2 separate regions of the Homo sapiens genome follow, and region 2 is linked to region 1. Evidence: promoter capture Hi-C in 16 types of primary human blood cells and fetal thymus (Javierre and others, 2016). All regions are on one chromosome and are shown on one strand. Each heading gives the region's core, a stretch centred on a gene start or on the middle of the fragment in contact. The rest is flanking DNA. Distances are from core to core; before and after follow the strand shown.

Region 1 (5,208 bases), core at 1,249-3,748:
TAGGAACGTGTCCACAGGCTTCACAGACTCCCAAAGGGGGCACAAAAATAAAGGATCCCCTGGCTTGGTGCAAGCTTGACCCCAACTTTGTTCCTGGCCTTCCCCAGCCCTGGCTTCTGGTCACCGTGTTGGGAGAGCTGAGCCTCCCTGTTTCAAGAGAAGGCCCAGGTGGTGAGGCCTCAGGTTTACAGAGCAGAGTGGATGATGGGGAAGCCCTCGCACGTTCTGTCTCTGCCTTTTGGTGTCACTCACCCACGCCCGTTATCTTCCATTCTCTGATCTTCTCTTTCCTCTTTCCTTTCTCCTTCATTACCCCTTCCACCCCCACACTCTCAGAGCCTTCCTTTCAGCCTATTTTTGAACATCCCTGAGGATAATGTCTTTTCTGTGGCTCCTGGGAGGCGCCACTACCAGCTGTGGCTCGTTAGCTGTGCTGGAAAAACTCTCGCGTTGTGCCTCAAGGGCAAGAGGAGTCTCTGGTTCCACTTGGCACTCAGAGGGGGACCAGGGATGTCTCAATGGTGGGAACAATGGGGAGTGTGACCTTGGAGCTGGAAGCAGGGCTCTGACCCCCTGCAGGAGGGATGAGAGTGCCCTCACCTCTAGTGAGAACTGAGGCCCTGCGCCGGCCCCAGCCAAACAGTGAGGGCGTGCAGACCTTGCCCAGGAAGGCCAATTTCTCAGTGCAAAGGGAGCCATGGCCAGGGAACCCGGCCCGGGTCCTCCACCTCTGAAGCTGAGCTAGGCATCTGCAGGCCAGGGTGAGGGGCTGCCCTGTGTGACCCGCCGGACCCAGGCATAGAGCAGCACCTGAGTCAGGCTGTCCCAGAGCACTGGCAGCTTCACTGCAGGGGCAGGCTGGCTCTGCTGACGCCAGACGCTCAGTCTGGGCAGAGACTTCTCAGTGGGGGCAGAGAGTAGGTGCTTCTCTGGCTAATCTGCCTCCCAGCTCTGTGTTTGATAAGGCCCAAGTCCAACTTTACAGATTGCAAATTGACCTTATTTCTCTTTGGCATCACAGAAAAACAACCTATAATCCACCAAGCCAGATATGAGCGGGCCTGACCTGTGGATCCTCTGCCCACCTGACAGACATCTGCTCATTTGTCGGGAACCCCTCAAGAGACAACTCCTCCCTGCAGCCGGCCCCTCACTTCCCCCCACCCATGGAGCACTGATCCCAGCCACCAGGGCCTGACACAAGGGCCCATCACCATGGCATCTAGCAAACACGTTTCTCACGCTTTGGGTTGTATTTATCTCTTCCCCACCTAGCTATGAATTCTGCAAGGGCGAGAGGAATGTGGGTTGAATCTGCTGCACATGGTAGCACTTGATAAGCGGTTCCTGAATGAATGAGTGAATGGCAGCCAGTCCTTCCCATTCTGAGGCAGAGGTGCAGCCAGGAGAGGGCGTGTACACAGGTCTGACTGACCACAGTGGGAGGGGACTGACCCTCATCCCTTGGTCGCAGCTGGACTTTCCTTCTAGGCCCGATCTCCCTGGCGCCCCACCCTGCACCCATCTGCCTGGGCCCACTCTCCTGGGCATGTTATCAGGGATGCACAGACTGCTCCATGTTCGAGGGGACTGAGGCACATCCATCACCCTCGTGCCCTGGGTGCTGCTGCATCCCCAGAGCCTGACTCTGTGCCTTGGACTTAGTAGATGCTCGAATCACAGTTCGCAAACCCATGCAAGAGTCTCTGATTTGGGTTTCGCTTTCCTTCCCCCTGCCTGTGTCCACTCTATAAAGGCAGAAAGGAACCTGCTGGAGCTGGGTCCTCCCCGAGAGGCTTGCAGTTCCAGAACAGGCAAAAACAATGGCTTCCCACAGGTTTACAAAACAAGGAGCAGGCTATAGCCCCGAGGAAGCTGCAGGACCCTCATCGGTTCCAACTCCTGTGGAACTGATGAGGACTAAAGGGGCCTTCCTGTGGCCATCTGGGTCCCGGAGGTGGGCGGCTTTCTAGGCTCCCCAGCCTGCCACACCCCTTGAGGCCACCCCACCCAGCTTCAAGCCTCAGCCCTAACTTCCAAAGGTGCAGCTGTGCCAGGGTGCGGGTGGGGAAGACACTGTCTCCTGGGGAGACCTCCATCTTACCTCTGAGGTCAGCCTCTGCTCAGGTGCAGCGTCACAGCAGGGGGCCTGCGTTCTGCTTCCCAGTCTGGGAGAAGAGAGTGTCTGGATATTTTCAGGAAAAAAAAAGAAAGTTGAGCAGCCACAGCAGGGCAGGGCAGTCTACATCCTCAAGTCTCCCTCAGCTTCTCTGCTGCTGCCGGCTGGCCTCAAATTTTGCCTCTCTTTGGTTCTCTGAGAAGTTTTACCAAGAGAAGAGACAGGAGGAGAGATCCAGCCTGGACTATTGTTTGTGGGGTGTGTAGGTGTGTGTGTGTGTGTGTGTGTGTGTGTGTGTGTGTGTGTGTGTATGCGTGTATGTATCCCGCGAGGCTGGAGCCACAGCTTCCCTGATGAACCATGGAGGCGGGCCAGCTCCTGAGCTGCGGTTGCCCTGGAGACCCACCTAAGCCTCTTTGCCTGGAGCAGCATTATCTGTAGAGGGAGTGGCTGATCTGACACAAAAGCCTGAGGCGACCCAGGCCCAGGCAGTGAGGGAGCACTTGTGTCCAGATGGCATTCTGTCCGCTTCCTCCTCCAGCCGGTGCTCAGTGTGGCACAAACTGGGCAAGACCATTCTCACCCAACCCTCTGCTGAGCCCTAGGTGTACCTGCTGTTGGCAAATGTTTCCAGCTGCCTGGTGGGTGGCTCCTGGATGGAGATCCCCTCTTTCTATCAGCTCCCTCCTACAGGGAAGGGGTGATTCTGGGTGCTGAGGACAGGGACCTGTGAAGATACATCTCCGCCTTTGCCCCACCACATCCCTTGCCTGTCTTCCTCTCTGCTTATCTAAATTATTTCCTTCCCTCAAGGCAAGCTCAAGAGCAGACAGTTCTGACTTTCAGAAGGAGGGGCTGTCCAGGGAGAAGAGGAACATGGAACAGAAAGCATTGACGTTGAGGTATTTGAGATAACATTTGGGGATAGCAGAAGCATCCTGTTGCTGTTCTGCAGCATCCCACACTCATGTCTGGGCCTCCTTCCTGTCTCTGCTCTCTGGTCACGCTGTCACTTGTAGACTGTTCTGCCTAGAAGCCATGTGTGGGCCAGCTTGCACCTAACAGACATTAGGTAGCACTAAAACAGATGCACACTGCCCTGTGAGGGGCATGGGAATACTGTAATGGGCATGAAGCTGCATTATAATAGATCTTAGGTAATCCTGTGCTGGGTGATAGCGTGACTTTTGCACACATCTGGTTTTGATTGTGTTGGAAATAAAGCAGAAAGTACAACCAAGAATAAATTAAACAATGGCTGATGAAATGGACTCAGGTTGCCCACCTGCCTGCCTGCATGATTTCGTCCCTGGGTGATTTGTCACTTCGTGCTTGCTCTGTGGCTGGTTCCACTCAGCTGGTTCCATCCGCCTTCCCTCTTCATCCATCAAGCAGGCAAGATTCTTGAGTCAGGAGTTGGATCATATACTTCTCTTGACCAGTTCACAGCACGACAGCCCCAAAGATTGAGTGGGTCACTTGGGGATGGAAGATCCCCACATTTGAGGGAGCTGAAGCTGACTTCCTCTGACCCACAGTTCCCAGGCGGCCTCCACCTCAGGGCCAGCTAAGGCCAGAGTCACCCAAAGCAGGTAACTGGGAGTCCCCACCTCTGAGCACCCCACCACTATCCTGGCACTTTCCCAAGGGGCGTGGCTTGGAGGTCCAAGGGCAGAAATTCCCAGGCATTTCCACACTGTAGGGAAGGGAGCAGGGGGATGACAAGACTTTACCTTCCCTTTAGGAAAGTTGCTGGAGGCAATGAGGAGAGGAGGGCATGGACTAAGTCACATGCTCATCTGTGCAGCACGTATTTCTAAAGCACCATTCTACAGGGGCACCAAGCTAGGAGCTGGCTGAGCCTGGCTCTCCTCTCTGCACACATCCCAGCCAAGCCTGTGTGTGCTGGATTGCTGGATCAGATGAGGAGGAGGTGGAAGTCTGGCAGGCAGGTGGGGAGCAGGGACAGCATTAGGGCCCAGAGTTAAAGACTTTTATCTCCAAGTAGTACAACCTTGGGTCTGCTACTGACCATTCTGTGTTTGAATAAAAACAATTCATCCCTTTTCTATAGCCATGCTTTTGTATTAATATCTCCCCTTCTAATGCACACACAATGAATGTAAATGAGATCATAGAGGCCAATGTCTTGAGCCATCAGAAAGATTTTGTCGCAGCAGCTGCCAGATGAGCTTCAGGACTCCTGACCCTGGGATGCCAGGGAACAAGCACACAGACGACTTATAGCAGTCTCCCTGGCAGACGCAGCTGGCCCCTCTCCTGCATTTTTCAAATGGTGCCTGTGATTAGAAGAGGGAGGCACTCCCTAACCCACGACCCTCCCTGACAGCTGCCTTGATACCGTAACTCACAGGCCTTGGTGGGTGTGTTGACTCCTCATTTATTCTGATTTGTTCACCTGTGGAGGATTTGTGATTATCCTTGCTGAGTGTGAATTTGCTCTGGGGAGAAAAGGTGGCGGTTGTTTTTCTCTTGTTTGGCGTGGATGGAAGTTGCTGAAGCATAGATATTCAGCAACCATCAAATGCAGAAACACCGGTGGGGCCCGCAACATTGCCTCATAGATGGCATTTGATTAATAAATTGGAAATGTGGAGTTATGAGGCGATTACATGCAAGGCTGGATTAAAATCCGCATGGAGATTAGAGATAAGCCCCGGCTCTGCGTGTGTGTGTGTGTGTGTGTGTGTGTGTGTGCACGCGCGCGCTCCGTTCTCTCCTCCCTGGAGTCTTTCCAGGCTATTTCAAACCATTTCTAACCACTCAGTCATGCGTTGGGTTTTCCAAATCCTGCAGAAGGTCTGTGTAGCCCTAATCCCAAAGAAGTTGAATTAAATGGACAGAATATTCATAGGTACAGACCAGATTTGCAGTTACTTAGACCTCTTCTCTCTGGGCATCCCTCTTTCTATTCCTGTGGTCACATTTCCTCTCCAGGTGCTACGGACTGAATGTTGTGTCCTCCCCAAAATTCAATCTTGAATCTCCCAAGGTGATGGTTAGGAGGTGGGACCTTTCGGATGTGATTAGGTCGTAAGAGGGGAGCCCTCAGGAATGAGATTACTGCC
Region 2 (5,208 bases), core at 1,708-4,207, 1.1 Mb before region 1:
CACTGCTGTAAAAATAGAGTATACTTTCTTATTTTTCATCAGCCTTTTAAACACTTCCCCTCTTCCCCGGCTTTCTGTTTCATCTCCTATTAGAAATGGAAGAACCTGGAATAAAGACCATTGAGTGAGGGTCAGAGTAGTTCCGGTGGGGCTGTCATCCTGTGCTCCAGCAAGCTCATCTCAAGCTTCAGGTCACTCATGCTTTGATACCTTTTAAAAGAGCATGATAAATTCAAATTAAAACCACAACGAGATGTCATTACACACTTACCAGAATGGCTCAGATAGAACATAGTAACAGCACCAAATGCTGGCAAGGATGTGAATAAACTGGATCACACATGCATTGCTGGCAGGAAAGTATAATGCTACAGCCATGCTGAAAAACTGTTTTATAGTTTATTATAGAACTAAATATGCAACTACCTTGCACCCCAGCAAGTGTGATCTTGGGCATTTATCCCAGAGAAATGAAAACTTATTTTTACACAAAAATCTATGCATGTGTGTTTGCATAAGTTTTATTTGTAATAGCCCCACATTGCAAACAGCCTAGATAGCCTCCAGTAGGTTAATGGCTAACAAGCTGTGGTATATCCACATCATGGAACACTACTCAGCAATGAAAAGGAGCAAACCATTGATACAGCAACTTGGATGAATCTGCAGGAAATTACGCTGAGTGAAAAAAGCCAATCTTTGAAATGGAGAAGAGGTTACTGGTTGTCAGGATTAGGGATGGGGGTGATCAGAGGAGTGGGAAGGAGGTAAATGAGGTATAAAATGGCAACACAAGGAATCCTTGTGGTGATGGAGCTGTTCTGCATTTTTACCATGGTAGATACCAAACCTATACATGTGATAAAATTGTATAGAACTAAACACACACATAAATTAATAGAAGTGAAACTAGAGAAATCTGAATAAGTTTGGTGCATTGCAGCAACATCAATATCCTGGTTATGATATTTGTGGTTTTAAAAAATGTGCCATAGGAAGAAACTGGGTAAAGTATACAAGGGATGTCTCTTGTATGTATATGTGAATACAACTATCTCAAAAATCTGAGAAAGAACATTACATAAAAGTTGTATGCAACTGGAATCTGTAAATCAGAAACATCACAATCCAACATTGAGGCCATGTTTTACCTATACACTTTATGTGATCAATGTGATTCTTTGTCTTCTTTCAAGTAACAAGTAATTCCCAATCATCTTCATAATTTGAACCTTGTAATTTAAATGAATTGGGCTATTTTGGTGTTTAGGTGGGTTTTTAAACTTGAGTTTGACGTACAGTATGTGTGTGACCAAATCTTGTATGTCTGCTCTTATTACCCTGAGAACTTGGGGAAAAAAATCTGAAAGCCTTTCTAGTGATGAGTCAGAAGTGTTGTTTTGGAACAAAATGCAACACAATTTTTTTTTTTTTTGAAAAGTTAAAAAAATTCTGGCCTGGTTGATGTCAGAAGCTTAATACTGATAGTTAAGCATTTTTACTTAAGAGAGAAAAAAGGTTGATAAATACATAAGCACATTTGGAGTAGAGATGGATGGGACAGGGCTATCTTTAGGCCTTTGCTGATGAAACTGGCCTTTGAAATGCTTAGAAAAAGCTCTTCTGCTGCCCAAAGAAGCAGGCCGTCCATGCTGCTGCCCACCCTGCTGGGCCATGTCACCCTTTTATCCTAGAACCCTCTTCATAGTGCTTGAGATCTAGGTATGTGCATGGGAGGGATCGTGGTTGGGCAGCTGTGCCCTAAGGGCTACCTCTATAATGGGGACTGCCCTGCCATGATGCCAGTTGGATTGCAAGACATGGGAGGCTGATTCTGCTCTAGCAGGATTTTATTTACTTGTTTGTTTGTTACTTATTTTGAGATGGAATTTTACTCTTGTCTCCCAGGCTGGAGCGCAATGGCGCGATCTTGGCTCACTGTAACCTCTGCCTCCCAGGTTCAAGCGATTCTCCTCTTGCAGTATTTTAATGGTGTTTTGGGGATAGGATTCATTCCAATAGCATTTTTATAGACAAAGTATGAAAATCAACATTTTAGTGGGATTCTAATATATACAACAGTTTCGTGTAGGTGATTCTTTTTGCATTATTCACATCTTTTCATTGCCTGTGCATCATGAATGTATATAGTAGAGTTGCTTGTACTTGGGGAGAATCAATGGGTAATATTAAGATGGGTAGAGAACATGAGGCTCATGTGAGAGCGTGTCCTGTGATGTCTTAGAACAGTATTAAGTGTCGTCTGCCTGTACTGTTTGGCAGTAGGGAAACAGTGGGGGATGAATATGGGACAAATTTTTCTGCCCCAAGGTGGCTTTGGAGACCACTGTTAAATTCATCATAGTCTCTCAAGTAAATGGGGTTTACACAGCACTATCAAGTATTTCCTGAAGCTTCTTTCAGCATTTTCCAAGTTGAAGCAGCTTCAGTCTGTGGTAAGTTCCCAAACGAATCCCAGCAAACAGGCTTTTTCCAAAGGGATCAAATAGCACTTAATAAAAACATAACTGTGTCTATGTATGTAGCCACACATGCACAAAAAAGAATTCCATTGGTAAATGCTGTAGGTCATGTTGGAAAAGAAGCCCCTTTTTTTCATTTGTTAAAACTACCTCTTAAAATAGTCTTTGGCCATGTATTCCTTATAATTGGACTCTGCCCAGAGGTGAGGGTTTGAAGCAAATTTATGTGGCTGTTTTCTGTGGGTAGTAGGATGGAAAAATAGTAAAAATGAACTTCACATTTCTCTGGTTTTCTTGGAACTTAAAAATGGCTGATCTAGTCTCATATTTAAAATGTTCTCTTGAGCTAGAGTATAGGTTTGGGAAAGAATGGTAGGTAGGCAATATTTTGAAAGAGTTAGCATCAAAGCACGGGATTTGCAATTTACACTCCACACCTGTCTTGCCCTGAAAAAAGTCTTTGTTTCCACAAGACGACCTAAGTTCAGGCACTTATCACTTTTCAATTCGGTGGTTCCTGGGATCCACATTTTAAAATGCATGCCCGTGAGACATCACATTTCCCTATGGGAATAACAACTGTATTTGTAGAGTCCTTCCTGTGTATCCACCCCATGAAGGAGATATTGTTATTATTCCAGTTTTGTTTTGTTTTTGAGATGGAGTCTTGCTCTGTTGCCCAGGCTGGAGTGCAATGGTGCGATCTCGGCTCACAGCAACCTCTGCCTCCCGAGTTCCAGGGATTCTCCTGCCTCAGCCTCCCGGGTAGTTGGGATTACAGTCACCTACCATACCTGGCTAATTTTTGTATTTTTAGTAGAGATGGGGTTTTGCCATGTTGGTCAGGCTGGTCTTGAACTCCTGACCTCAGGTGATGCACCTGCCTCGGCCTCCCAAAGTGCTGGGATATCCCAGTTTTATATATGAAGAAATGAATCCACAGAGATGGAGTCATTTGCCTCAGGTCACACAGGTAGTTATGAGACACCAGCATTTGAATTTAGGCAGTTAGACTTCAAAGCTTGAATCATTAAACCACAATGATACCTTGCGTCTCAAAGTTAAAACATTGTGGTTTTTAAGGATTTCCCCATCAGGTCTGACCAAGGTTATATCATAAAGCAAAGACATGTTAATTCATCTACTTATTCAATGTGATAACTATAAATTAGTTGATGATTAGATAAAAATCTGTGATTCTCCTAAAATGGGAATAAATGTATCAATCAGGTAGACTATGCAAAGTCCTCAATAGCTCATAAAGCAGGTAAGATGCAATTTTTCTATGACATAAATTTGACTAATCAATATGCAAAAAATCAAAAATGCAAAAAAACCCTACATATTTAAAATCTCTGGCTTAGACTTTGGAAAGTCTTTTGTGGTTTGGATGGCCCAGTTTTCTTAATAGGTCTTCCTAGAAATGTGTACTAATACTTTCTCTCACCTTCACTTCTGAAGGATGCTGTATGTGGGATGTGGTCCAGTTGGCATTTTTCCAGCTGTCTTCTGGCTTCCATTGTGTCTGTTGAAAAGTCAATCCAATATCTTATTGTTGTGTGACCCAGGGGTCTGGGTGGCTTTGGTTGAAGGCAGGAGAGTGGTTACTTGCTTCTGGGTGGAGCTGATGGGACTCTGGGGGTTAATGTGGAAAGTCCCTCTGAATCTTGTTTGTCTGTGTTGTACCAAAATTCCCAGGGCAGTGATAAGAGTTTCTTTATTGGGTAATTAAACGTGATCCTCTTACATGTAGAACCTTCAATATCACTTCCATGAGCTCACTTCTGTTTATTTTCCTCCCTCCCCTCTTCCTCCCTGTCTCTCTCTGGATGGGCCCCACCATTTGCAGCACAGACCCTGGATTCTCATGCTCTATGGGATGTGGGCCTGCTGGTGTGTGCTGGGGACCCCTGGTGTGGCTATGGTTTTGCTCCATACCACCATCTCTTTCTGCGTGGCCCAGTTCCGGTCTCAGCTCCTGACGTGGCTCTGTTCTCTCCTCCTCCTCTCCACACTGAGGCTGCAGGGTGTGGAAGAAGTTAAGGTAAGTGTTTTCCTGTTACCATTGGGAATCCAGAGAAGGCCCCTTTGGCTTTGCCTTGATCCCAGTAGACACCTTGGTTTTCAGACAAGAGATGATTGTAGAACTGTGATGGGGCTCCCCATAGTGGCCGTACAGGGTTGCTACAAGTGAACCCTAGTGGTGCATTCTGCAATCCTATCATTCCTGGCTGTGTTTTAGCCCTGTGAGATTGCCCAGGGCTGGCCCTGTACCATCTCTCCCAGTTTAGGTGGGCATGTGGGGTGCCAGATGTCACAGGGCCAGAGGGTCAGGAACAAAGAGAGAAGAAACAAACAGATGATTTACTAAAAAACATCTGGAGAGTGCCCTACAATTTATAGGGAATGCACACATCACTCAACTCATCTGATGGCCACAATGGCCCTGTGGTGGTAAGTCAGGTCTTTTTCTTCTTCCTAGTTGATGGAACAGATTTATTTATTCATTTGTAGAGACGGAGTCTTGCTCTGTCACCCAGGGCTGAAGTGCAGTGGTGCGATCTTGGTTCACTGCAACCTCCGCCTCCTGGGTTCAAGCGATTCTCGTGCCTCAGTCAACCGAGTGGGTGGGATATAGGTACCTGCCACCATACCCAGTTAATTTTTGTATTTTTAGTAGAGATGGGGTTTCACCATGTTGGCCGGGCTGGCCTCAAACTCCTGG

What was found. The method cuts DNA at HindIII sites, captures the fragments that hold promoters and counts their contacts. A CHiCAGO score of 5 or more calls a contact.
Region 2: a contact is called between a fragment that was not itself captured here and the fragment with the promoter of RD3 in region 1, in 1 of 17 cell types (total B cells). The highest score is 5.2, in total B cells.

What each region holds. Positions count from the first base shown.
Region 1 is chr1:211,489,664-211,494,871 of GRCh38, forward strand. It overlaps RD3 (RD3 regulator of GUCY2D), which reads right to left and starts at 2,499. Exons shown (of 3, transcript NM_001164688.2): 1 at 2,105-2,499. The HindIII fragment of the contact is 10,925 bases long and covers 73-5,208 here.
Region 2 is chr1:210,396,136-210,401,343 of GRCh38, forward strand. It overlaps HHAT (hedgehog acyltransferase), which reads left to right. Exons shown (of 12, transcript NM_018194.6): 5 at 4,333-4,527. Among named protein-coding and RNA genes, the nearest start is that of HHAT, 70 kb to the left of the region's middle. The HindIII fragment of the contact is 1,090 bases long and covers 2,413-3,502 here.